2 separate regions of the Homo sapiens genome follow, and region 1 is linked to region 2. Evidence: promoter capture Hi-C in 16 types of primary human blood cells and fetal thymus (Javierre and others, 2016). All regions are on one chromosome and are shown on one strand. Each heading gives the region's core, a stretch centred on a gene start or on the middle of the fragment in contact. The rest is flanking DNA. Distances are from core to core; before and after follow the strand shown. Region 1 overlaps ZPBP (zona pellucida binding protein). Region 2 holds the start of SEC61G (SEC61 translocon subunit gamma).

Evidence for each region. Contacts are between HindIII fragments. The CHiCAGO score rates a contact against its expected background, and 5 or more counts as called.
Region 1: a fragment that was not itself captured here is called in contact with the fragment with the promoter of SEC61G in region 2 in 2 of 17 cell types (total B cells and naive CD4 T cells); the score reaches 6.5 in total B cells.

The regions. Positions count from the first base shown.
Region 1 is chr7:50,078,942-50,084,833 of GRCh38, reverse strand. It overlaps ZPBP (zona pellucida binding protein), which reads left to right. Exons shown (of 8, transcript NM_007009.3): 3 at 2,935-3,060. Among named protein-coding and RNA genes, the nearest start is that of ZPBP, 11 kb to the left of the region's middle. The HindIII fragment of the contact is 3,374 bases long and covers 1,307-4,680 here.
Region 2 is chr7:54,755,865-54,762,055 of GRCh38, reverse strand. SEC61G (SEC61 translocon subunit gamma) reads left to right here and starts at 2,845. Exons shown (of 4, transcript NM_014302.4): 1 at 2,845-2,898; 2 at 4,462-4,561; 3 at 6,175-6,191. The coding sequence starts at 4,468. SEC61G-DT (SEC61G divergent transcript) reads right to left here and starts at 2,743. Exons shown (of 3, transcript NR_110040.1): 1 at 2,532-2,743. RefSeq lists an enhancer at 1,707-2,642 and a silencer at 2,876-3,195. The HindIII fragment of the contact is 2,422 bases long and covers 2,435-4,856 here.

The sequences.
Region 1 (5,892 bases), core at 1,744-4,243, 4.7 Mb after region 2:
GTTCCTTATTCTGCCATTTGTATTGATCTCCCCAATGACAACTTTTAAAGCTGAATTATAAAACGTTATCTGGGTAACTAATTTCCCTTTCATTTTCTTTTATTGTATAATATTAAATTTATTCTTAAAATAGATTACCATTCCAATTGACTAGGTAGTTCTTATATCACTGAGTAGATTATTATATGATATTTCATTGGTTTTGGCCCATAATATACTGACTGCATGATTTTTTGTGCCCACCATTTCTTCTGTCATGTAAGGTCTTGGCATCTGTCTGTGTTGGCCACTTTTCAGATTTGTGACCCTCTTTTTAACTCGTTCGCCTTTTACATATTCTTTTCAGTTCAGTTAGTTTTCCATTTTCATTAATTCATGTATTAATTAATTCACTGAGCCTTTATTTACATTTTGTTGAACTTTTAGTTTATTCTGTTTTTTTGGTGTATGTAATAAATACCATTTTGTATTTTTTTTTTTTTTGGTACATGTTCAGAAGTTTTCTGGGACTGTATTATCCAGGAGAAGAGGTTTTAGCATCATAGGACCTGAGCATTCTCATTCTCACTAACTTTGCTCTTCAAAAAGGCTGCACCAGTTCACACTTCCTTCAGTGGTGCTTGAGGGGGTCCCATTTTCCCACATCCTTATCAGCACAAAATTTTACCCAACTTTTTCCATTTTTGGTAAGCTGAAGATTAAGTTGCCTCTACCCATTCTTTTCTTTGTTGTTTTCAAAGGAGTTCTTTTTCATATTGTTTATATTCCAGTTATAAATGCATTATTAACTTTGTTGCAAATATCCTCTCCCTACAGTCAAATTTGTTAACTTTGCCTATGTTATACAGGATCAAACAGAAAGTGTTACCATTTAAGAAGTTGAGTTCAGTATTTTTATATTTGTGCTTTTTGCATTGAGATAATTTTCTATAACTGGTTCAGACATAAAGGTATTATTTTCTTTAAATAATTACTTGCCTTCAGTTATTCAGTGTACCTGGAATTTATTTTTATATACGGTAAGAGGTATAAATCTAAGTTTACATTTGCATGTATTTTGAGATAACTTTTAACTATAATTTATTGATAATCTATATTTTCTCCAGTGATTTTAGGTACCTTGTCTACCACATATATATCAGTTATTTATGCCAATTTGATTTTTTCCCTAGACCCATTATTTGTTCCTACACCAGGCCTCTCTTTTTTTATTTAGTGTAAATGTTAATATATCTCAGTAACTCTTATTGCTAGTCCCTCCTCTTTGCTTTTCTGTTATAGAATTCTTTCAGATATTTATGAAGCTTTAATCTTCCAAATGGATTTTAGAATCAGTATTGAAGAGCTTCTTAAATAATTTCTTCTGGGATTTTGCTTATGTGTTGATAAATAAATTTGGGAATAAATTGACATCTTTAAAGTTATGTGTATGCAGTCATGATTATGGCATTTTGGTCTAATTTTATGTCTTTTGTTAGAGCCTGAAGATGTTTCCCACAGAGGTCTTACTTGATTATAGAGTGACTTTTGTTTATTGTACTCTAAATATTATCTTCCTTCCTATAAAATGGTTTAATGCATTATTGTTGATGTAGAGGAATATTATTTGTTTTTGTATGTTGATCTTGCATTGGGAAACTCTTCTGGATTCATTTATATTTGCTGTGAAATAGGTACAGGGGTTAGTGGGGGCGAGAGGAAGGGTACAGTCATGGTATGAGGTACTGTCAAGCCAAAGCACAAAGGATATACTTATGCTGAGTCTCCAAAGATGAGGAGGAATTTATATCAATAAAATCACAAAAGAATGATGCTGTGTGCTGCTGTGGCGTGGTTAGGGCAGAGGGTGTGAAAAGAGGTATAGTGAGATATATGCAAAAGATCATGGAGAGTAGGGCCAGTAAATCATGCTGAGGAGTGAAAATTTATGGGGTAAGCATTTATTAAAGAAGTTAGGCAATCTATTAATGCAAGCATTTCATTAAAGTACTCAAAAAGAAAAAAATCACCTCAATCAATATAGAACAAACATTTCTTAAAATTCAGTGCTGATTTATGTTTATGATAAAAACAAATAACCAAGAACAGAGGGGATCTTTCTTAACCTGTGGAAGGGTATGTACCTAAAAGTACATTCAATAAACATCATGCTTTATGGTAAAACTTTAGAGGAAGTCTCTTAAAAGTCAAAGAGAATTTTGATTCTCTTTATTTTACTCGATCACAGAAATCTTTGTATACAGTGTATCAGTGAAGAGTTGGCATGCAGAGTCTAAAGGGTTGTTGCAACCTTTCCTAAAAGTTTACTTATGAGTAAACTTAAAATAATGGAATCTTTACCGGGTTCCTTTTGTATCTCCTAAAGGATACTATTTTTGCTTACTTATCAGGATTTAAATTTCAAAGCAAATGGAACAAAATGCTTTAATATTTAAAATCAATAAAAGCATAAATTTGCTAACTTTTTAATCACTTTATCATTTTTATTCAGTACATCATGCTACATCATTGTGAATAATGCATTATTCTGCTAATCTAAACAATTTTTAAGCTCTAATCATGTTTGGTGTCTTTACAAAACAGATAAAGTGTAGATATAGTATTATCTTAATACTTTGTTATTGAAATAATATTCTGAGAATAAAACAGGTTAGTGTATATGAGCTCTGAATGAAAAGTACTAACACATTATGCTAAGGTTGGGGATACATGTACACACACATACATGCATACACATATATACATACAAATACATAATATATTTTTAATGTTAATTGCATAGAATGCAATGAAATTTAGTTTTTATCAAGTAATAGGAGCAATAATTCAAAGTACTCTTATTATTGCATGTAACCCAAACTACAAAAGTGTACATTATAGAGAAAGAAAAGAAGATAAAATACTATTGGAACATTTTAAATATTGTATTTTCAGTGAAAGCGTATGTCATGCTCCATCAAAAGAGTCCACACGTGTTATGTGTAACGCAACAACTGCGAAATGCTGAACTGATAGACCCATCATTCCAATGGTATGGGCCTAAAGGAAAAGTTGTTTCAGGTAGGATTTTGTTTCAATTATTGTAATTAAATAAATGTATCTGAATTGTGTGCAACACAAAAAGAATGTTTGTATCTCATACATATTTATGTTATTTCCTCAATTCTTTTTCTTGTGATTTCCTTTTGGAGTTAGAGCTAACAATGTAGATAGTGTTCCCATTTTTACATATTTTATTTTGATACAGGGACATACTCTAAGAATGAACTGTTTGGGGGGTTCTCAAAGCATCTATAATCCCCCAAAGTTACTTTTTCTCACTTAAAAAATACTGTTTGTATGACTGATTTGATCAGTATTTCCTCTAGTCAACTTCTTGTTTTTTAATCCTGAAATACAGATTTTACTTTTTACTTTTATTCTAATTTTTTGATTGGATAAAAGCTGATTTTTAACACTGTAGTTTTAAAAAACTACAGTTAACTTAGCTGGCTTTGTTTCTTGCCTTGCAAAAAATATAGATTAATGAATTTTCATTTTGAAGATCTGTTCAGTCATTTTTGCATACCCTCAGAGAAAGTTTTCCTTTATTGCTCTATTTACCATGTTTTCTTTCCTTTCTTTTTAAAAATCTTATTGCTATTTTGAGATCGTGCCTGTGGATAGAAACTTACAGGCTTATTTTATTTTCTTGGATGAAGGAGAGCAATATATTTATACAAAGACTTGCTAAAGAAACATAGGAAATACTAATTTTTAATATGTTTTAATTCATATTTATATAGCTAAGAGATCTCAGCTGTATGTTTCTGTGGTATTTATGTTGATACAAAAATAGGTAATTTTAAAGAATTAATCTCCTCTTTGGGTCAGTCTGTGTTTTTCTTAGGACAAATTATTCATCATTCATTTAGTGAATGACTACTTGGTGGAAGCCGCTGTGCTAGGTTTTATGGGGGATAGAAAGATCAGACATAACCTCTGCCTCACTACACTAGCAAAGTAGGAACGATTGTGCAATTTGTTCATGGGATCAGCAGGGCTCAACAACAGAAATTCTAATAAGTTTTGCAGCTTATATAATCAGAGAAGTGATCCAGGCGTAAAAGCACCCAGTAGTGGAAATACAATCAAATTTTATTTTTATCACTCTCTAATAGTAGCACATAATGTAATAGAAACATGTGTTTTAAATATGTTTTACATTTTATATTGAAACTCTGCAAGTTGAAATATAGAAACATTTAAGCATTGAATTTTTTATTGTCATTTTTTGCTCGTTTGATTTGGAAATTGAAATTTGAAATTTTTTCTTCTCCGAGGTGCAACGCCAGGTCTTGCAGTTTATATTGCAAAATATAGTATGAAATTCAATTTATCCTTTAAGTAGGAGCAATATTTATTTTACTCACTCTTATAATAGAAAAGTAGGTATTGATAAATGTAGTTATTTCCAGGTAAAGATATAATCCTGTTACTACATTGGTTTTTATCTTTATAAAAACTGTTCTCAGGGAATTCTGGTATTTTAACTTTATGATTATATTATGGTTTTCAATACAGTATTTTATCATAGGTCACTCTCTACCAGTTGTAAAACTTATTAAGAACACTATACTTTTTATTTCAGAAAGGACTGGAAGAGGTCTAATGTCTTAAAGTTTGAAGAACAGAGAAGCTTTTTGGACTGTAGTTTAAACTGCACTGTACTTATCATTTTATGGATATCTCAAAGATAGTTTCCCTTGATTTGAGCCAAATAAATCATGTAATTATGTGATTACTTGTACATTCCTTTGGAGAAAATACTCAAGTTGTTTAGATGTGTTATGAAACATAGGGAGCAAGTCTTATATTTGGTGTCTCTCTTTTTCTCTGTTTCTTGAAAATTTAGTATTGTTTATTTACAAAGGTAATTGCATTTATTGCAACAAGTTCTGTACCTCCCACTCTGACCCTAATACTGTTCTGATGAATTAACTCTTTTTGGTGTGGGGACTTTTCCTGCTTTTCTAAATATTCACACAAACATGTATAAGTACTCACACATGTGTTCAGCTTTCCTACATCAAGCTATTAACATATCATTTACCTTACATAGTTGCCATTTTGTGTGTGTGTGGTGAGAACATTTGAGATTTACTCTCATAAAATTTCAAGTATACAATACATTATTGTTAACTGTATTTACCATTCTATACATTAGGTCTCCTGAACTTATTCATCTTATAACTGAAATTTTATACTCTTGGACCAAGAACCACATGTCTCCAACCCCCCAGTCCCTGGTAACCACCATTCTACCCTATATTTGTGGTAGGGTGGAGTGTGAATGTGACTTTTGTATGAGTATTAGTGTGACTTTTTTAGATTCCACATATTTCAGTTTCTGCCTTATTTTACTTAGCACAGTGAATTTTATAAAAATAATAAATACATAAGATTACTATGTGTCAGATATTATTCTAACAATTTACACATATTAATTTTAACAATGACCTTTTGCAGTAATTACAGCCACTTTCTCCATTTTATAAATGGGAAAACAAAAGCATTAAGAGAATAAGGTACTTTCCTAAAGTCATTATGTCTGAAGTCTTTTATCAGAGTTCATAGATATAATCTCAATGAGGTAGGAACACACCATTTTATGAATTTTGGTAGATTGTATCTTTCAAGGAATTTGTCCAACATTGGATTTTTAAATGTGTTGTATTTATATGCATAAAGTAGTTTGTAATATTTTGTGTTATCTCTTTATAGATAACAGATTTCTGGTTTTCAGAATCTATAGGGATGTGTCCTCATTCACTCCTGATGTTGGTTGTGTCTTCTCTCTCTTTTTTTTTGTTCTCTCTTACTAGTTATGTTGAGTATCTTTTCGTATGCTTG
Region 2 (6,191 bases), core at 1,596-4,095:
CATTTCCCTCCTAAATGCATCGACAATTGTATAATTAACTAGAGCTCAATACTTGTTGAGGTTTTTTTTTTTTTTTTTTTTTTTTGAGGAAAAAGGCACAGACCTGCTGCTATGGATGGAATGTTTGTGCGCCTCCAAATTCATATGTGGAAGCCCAAATGTGATGGCATTTGGATGAGGGGCTTCTGGGAGGTAATTAGGTCAGGAGGCTGAAGCCCCATGTTGGGATTAGTGTTCTTACGACCAGGAGGAGAGCTGGTCCTTTCTTTCTCTCTTCCTCCATCTCCCGCAATGTGAGAATGCAATGAGAAAGTAGCTATCTATAAACCAGTAAAAGCCTTCACAAGAACCTGACCATTATCTCTGACTTCCAGTCTCCAGAACTGTGAGAAATAAATGTTTGTTGTGTAAGCCACCACTCTATGATACTCTGTTATAGCTGCCCACGTTGACTAAGACCCCTGTGAAACCCTAAGACCTGTTAAATTACAGAGCATTACATTCACTCCCCAGTTCCCTCACCCGCCTTCTCAATATGTAGCCCCGGGCAAACACTGTTCTGATTTTTTCCACCATTCATTATTTTTGCTTTGTCTAAAATTTCTTGCAAATGGAACTGCACACTGTGCCTTCTTTAGCGTAGGCTTGTTTCACTCACCATGTTTGTCATTCATCAATGTTGTGGCAGAGAGTTTTCTTTCCTTAGCTATGGAGTACTATTCTGTTGTGGGACTATACCTGTATGTTTATTCATTCTATTGATGGTACCCTGTTGCTTTTAGTTCTGTTATCAATAAAGTTACTACGAACATTCCTGTACAAGTCTTTCTGTGAATTTAGTTTCATATATCTTCAATAAGTACCTGGAATTGGAATTGTGGAGCCATAGGTGGTGTATATATGCTTCATATTATGATAAACTACTAAACTTTTCCCAAAAGGGTTATGCCATTTTACACTCCTAGTAACCAGGAATTAGAGTTCTAGAGTTCTGATTGTTACGTATTTTTGCACAGATTTGCTGTTATCAGCCTGTTTTTTTTTTTTTTTTTTTTTACAGACGGAGTCTTGCTCTGTTGCCCAGGCTGGAGTGCAGTCGTGTGACCTCAGCTCACTGCAACCTCCACCTCCCGGGTTCAAGGGATTCTCTTGCCTCAGCCTCCTGAGTAGCTAGGGTTACAGGCATGCGACACCATTCCAGACTAATTTTTGTATTTTTAGTGGAGACGGGGTTTCTCCACGTTGGTCTGGCTGGTCTCAAACTCCCGAAATCAGGTGAGTAGACAATTATAACAATACACTGTAATGAAAGTTATTTGAATGTGGCCTCTCCCAGATTACCTTCTGGTACACATCTCTTTTTGAACCAGATTTTCTTGGATAAGGGGAACCACTGTATGTGTTACTTGATTTTCTGTGTTTTGCTGAAAATACTGTCAACTCAGACATTTGGTGGTTGGGGTGAACTTGCCAACATGTGATTTTATGTTTTTTTGGAATGAATTATTTTTTTGAAAATTATTTATTGAGCATTTACTGTGTTTAGCACTTTACTAGATGCTATATTATACCCACTTGGAGCTTATGGTCTAGTAAGGGGATTTACAGTGTAGGGAGACAGACCGAGGAATAAATAAATAAATGTTAATACAAATGCTATGCAGCAAATGAAGAAGGTATTGTGAAAAAGGAAAAAAGAGCATGAGATAGACAGGATTGCCTTAGATGGTCACTATAGGCCTCTAAGGAGATGACACATGGGCTGAAGTCCCAGGGATGAAGAACTAGTCAAACGCATCTCAGTCTGTTCAGAATTTAAAAGTGACTCTTAAAGCTAAGGCAAGGTATGTGTAGTGTGTATGGACCACCTACAGTCAGATATACGGAGGTGTGTGACCTCTAACCCTGACCCACTGAATCAATATCTGGAGGTTCTGGGGTTACAAATTTCATTTACTAAAAAACTTAACAGGAGATTTCAGTTACTGAAGAAGTTTAAGAAGCACTGAGAGTTGTAACACGTCTTAATGTTCCATCAGCTCTTCCTGAGTTATATTGTTCCTCAGATCCCGTTATGCTCCATTGCTAAAAGGAAACATGGCCGGGCGCGGTGGCTCACGTCTGTAATCCCAGCACTTTGGGAGGCCGAGGCGGGTGGATCGCGAGGTCAGGAGTTCAAGACCAGCCTGGCCAATATGGTGAAACCCCGTCTCTACTGACGGTTTCAGCCATCCGGCGGGGGGTTCCTGGAATGCATCCTTGTGGGTAAGTGGGGAGCTGTGTGTACATTATGACCACTCCCGTAACCAAACCTAGCGTTTGACAAAGGCCTCAATTACAGCGGCATTCATTACCGTGAATGACAGCCAAAGTCAAAGTTTGGGGTGGGGATACTATTTTGAATTAGGCCATAACATTATATTGCTCATAAGCTTCATTTCGACCAACATTATATACATACAAAAAGTATGTACCGTAAGGACACACATCAAGCTGGACCGCAGGAAAAAAAACCACAACTTAGGATTTACCTAGTCAGCCGCTACTAGAGAGCAAGCACCGCGCAAGGCCGCTGGGGCTCGTGCTGTGGACGTGAGTGGGTTGAGGTCGGGCTGGTGGGGTAACCCGGGATCCAGCCGGAAAAAAGGGATAACGCTAGACTCACACTCCTAAGGAAGGCCAACGCCCCAACTAGCGAGCTCCGCAATGCATCTCTTCCAGGAAGCGTGGCCGGGCGCACGTCGCGCTGCGCTTGCGCACTGAGGTTTCGCGTAAGGAACCAATAGGACGGAGGAGTGGGCGGGCTGTTGGCAGAAACCCGGATTCCGGTTCCGGTGGGCCTCCATCAGCAAGCTCCAGTGCTACGTGTCCCTGGCATTTTAGGTGTCGGTTGGGTAGGTGAGTTTCTTCCCACCGGTCGGTACGGGCGAACGGGGCGGCCACACCTTTGCGACTCTTGGGGGCAGCGGGCGTGGGCGAGCCGGCGTGTCTCCCCGGGCGGCCGTCGCGGGGCGGGCGGTAAGTGGTCCCCTGGCTCAGGGCCGGGGTCTGGCCGCCGACATCCCACCAACTCGGCCTCTGGCGGAAGGCAGACCCAGGGCCGCGGACTCCCGGCGAGCTGGGTGGCCGGCCCGCGGGGCTCCAGGGCTTAGCGTCCTGCCCCGGCGTCTTCTGTGCTGCAGCCAAAGATGATGTCCTGCTGCCCGATCCCTTCGGGGTTGGCTCTGTGTGCTGTTGTGGAGTCCTGTCTGGGAAGAGCTGTACTCAGCTCTGGTCCTGCCGCCGCTTCCGTGGTTTAAAGTGAGAGCATTGGTCTAGAGTCTAGTTCGAGAGATCATAGTTGGTTTTTGGATCTCTACCCCTGACATTGAGTGCGGTATTGTGTGTAGCGTGCGTTTTTCTGGATAAAGAATTCTTAGCTTCCTTCGTGACAACTATGATTACAAAAAGTTTAAGCCCTTTGGATTTCAAGAGCAAAGTTGAGTGAAATACTGAGAAAACAGACATTACTGTGTTTTTGCCCCCAGAACGTTGCAGAATTCCTGGTGTTTCATTGACATTATTTCATTTCGTTGTCCACACCCTACACTAAGGAAGGCAACTGGGGCTTACAGAGGTTTACATTCCATAGCCAGTGATTTGAACTACCACCTGGCCACTGTTCTGAGTACTGGAAATGGAGGAAAATACAAATAACACCCTGGCTGCTTTACTTACTATAGCAGTGGCTCTCAAAGCTAAGATCGGATAACATTTCTATTGGGTAATAGATTCCTCAAAAGAACCTGTATGGTAAAATATATAGCCCTGTTTCCTTAAAAGATGTGTTCAAATCGAAAAGTTTGAAATTTAGCTAGTAGCTTCTCAGAATTTGCGTCTTCCTTTAGCCATTCTTTATACTTTAGAAAAGTATGTTGTATTGGCACGTTTTAGAAAAATCAAGGTTGAAATTCACGTTTGCCTCTATTCTAGGCTCTTGCAGCACCGTAGTTGGCATTCACTGTACAAGACACTGGCTTCTGCGTAGTTTAAAATAAAATATGGAAAGTAATTGTTGGATCTCAACACTGATGGTTCCTTAGGAGCGGTGAGGGGACTGTAGAATGAGAAATGGATGGGACTGCAGAGTGAGAAAAGGAATGGATGTGTTACCAATTGCGTAACCTTTTTTAACCTTTTAATAGAGATAGGCTTTTTATATTGCGTGTGCTGTTCTTTGTCAGTGAAGATATCATGAGTAAGATCTGTGCTTTTCTTATTGCCTTTGATAATTAACTGAAATTTCCAAAAATAATATCAATTTAGGCTTTGGAGTTTGTTTTTTGTTTTATTTTAGGAGGTGGAATTGACCCATGTTAGACGTGAATTCAGTGGCTGGTCTCATTTACATCTTTATATAAATGAGCAAGTGCTTATTGTATGAGAACCAATACCAGTGAGTATCTTTTTTGTTTTAAACAGGCAGTCATGGATCAGGTAATGCAGTTTGTTGAGCCAAGTCGGCAGTTTGTAAAGGACTCCATTCGGCTGGTTAAAAGATGCACTAAACCTGATAGAAAAGGTAATTGCTTGACTATGAGAGAAAAAATTAAATCTTTGCATTTTCTAAGCCTTTTGTTTGATTAACATCTTGATTAATAGCCCTTGCATTACTTTGATCAACATTTTTATTGATTGATCCTGCGCGACAGCTTTTTAACGTTGTCACTTCTTCCTAAATTTTTTACTCGTCTAAATTTTTATGTATTTTCAAATGGTGTAAGATTATTTATTACAGCCTTATGTTCCATGTAACATTTTAGTTAGTAACATTTTATGACTTTTAGTATCTTACATATTTTCTCTTTGGAAAAGCTTTGAAGTCTCCCTACTCAGCTCCCACCCCAACGAACAAAACCTTAACATGAAACCAACAATATAGTTTTTGCCAAACTAGAAAGTTAATTTTGTTATTTATCATGATTCATGTGTTAAATTTGTCTACTTTTATTCATTCATTGAGTTAGGAGCTGGTAATATAATAGAGAATATAACATGTATATAATATAGTATATAGTATATAATATAGTATATAGTATATAGTATATATAGTATATAGTATATATATAGTATAGTATATAGTATATAATATAGTATATAACATGTATATATTATAGTAAAGAGAATAGTCCTTGCTGTCATGGAGCTTAGACTCTTACCAAGGAAGACTGTCATAAACAAATTATTGCGGTTATATTTTTTAATTACTGCTGTGTTAAGTATTATGGAAGATAACTAGAAGGAAGTTTGACAGCACATAATAGGAGGACTAACCAAGTCAGGAGATCAGGGAAAGCTTCTCTTAGGAAGTAACATAAAATGACAACATTACCAGTGTAATGTTTTATAAAATTGTGCTCAACTCAGACAGAGTCTCACTCTGTTGCCCAGGCTGAAGTGCAGTGACGCGATCTCGGCTCACTGCAACCTCCGCCTCCTGGGTTCAAGCAATTCTGCCTCAGCCTCCTGAGTAGCTGGGATTACAGGCATGCGCCACCACGCCCGGCTAATTTTTGTATTTTTAGTGGAGCCAGGGTTTCACCATGTTGGCCAGGCTGGTCTTAAACTCCTGACCTCGGGTGATCTGCCCACTTCGGCCTCCCAAAGTGCTGAGATTACAGGCACAAGCCACTGGGCCCAGCCCAGTTTGATTTTTCAAGTCTTATTTTTGGCTTCATCATAATAGCAAAGGCACCGGACCCATCGTTTATAATGTACCCAAAAAAGGTATGTTTCTGCCCATATAATTGATATGTTATGATAAAAATTACAATGTTACATTTTAAAACTTAAGAAAAATAATGTATATTTCTTTCATCCATGACCTTTTTTTGTTTTTGGTATTTTCTGGTCATTTGCTAAGAAGAAAAAATATTTTTAGTACTTGCTGATGAACTCACTAGGACAGATATGCATTATTATTTGTTTCCTTAAATATCAACAAAACATGGAAATTTTAAAACCTGTCAAACAACTTGTTTACTGTTAATAGTCTCACCTTTTTATTTTTAAATTATATATCTATTAACAGGAGAAATGTATACTAGTTAAGTTCATTTATGTTGCTGATAGTTTTTTTCCCATACTTTCAGTGACAGTGCAAAAAATATGTGAATTTCCTGTTTTTAAATGCAGAATTCCAGAAGATTGCC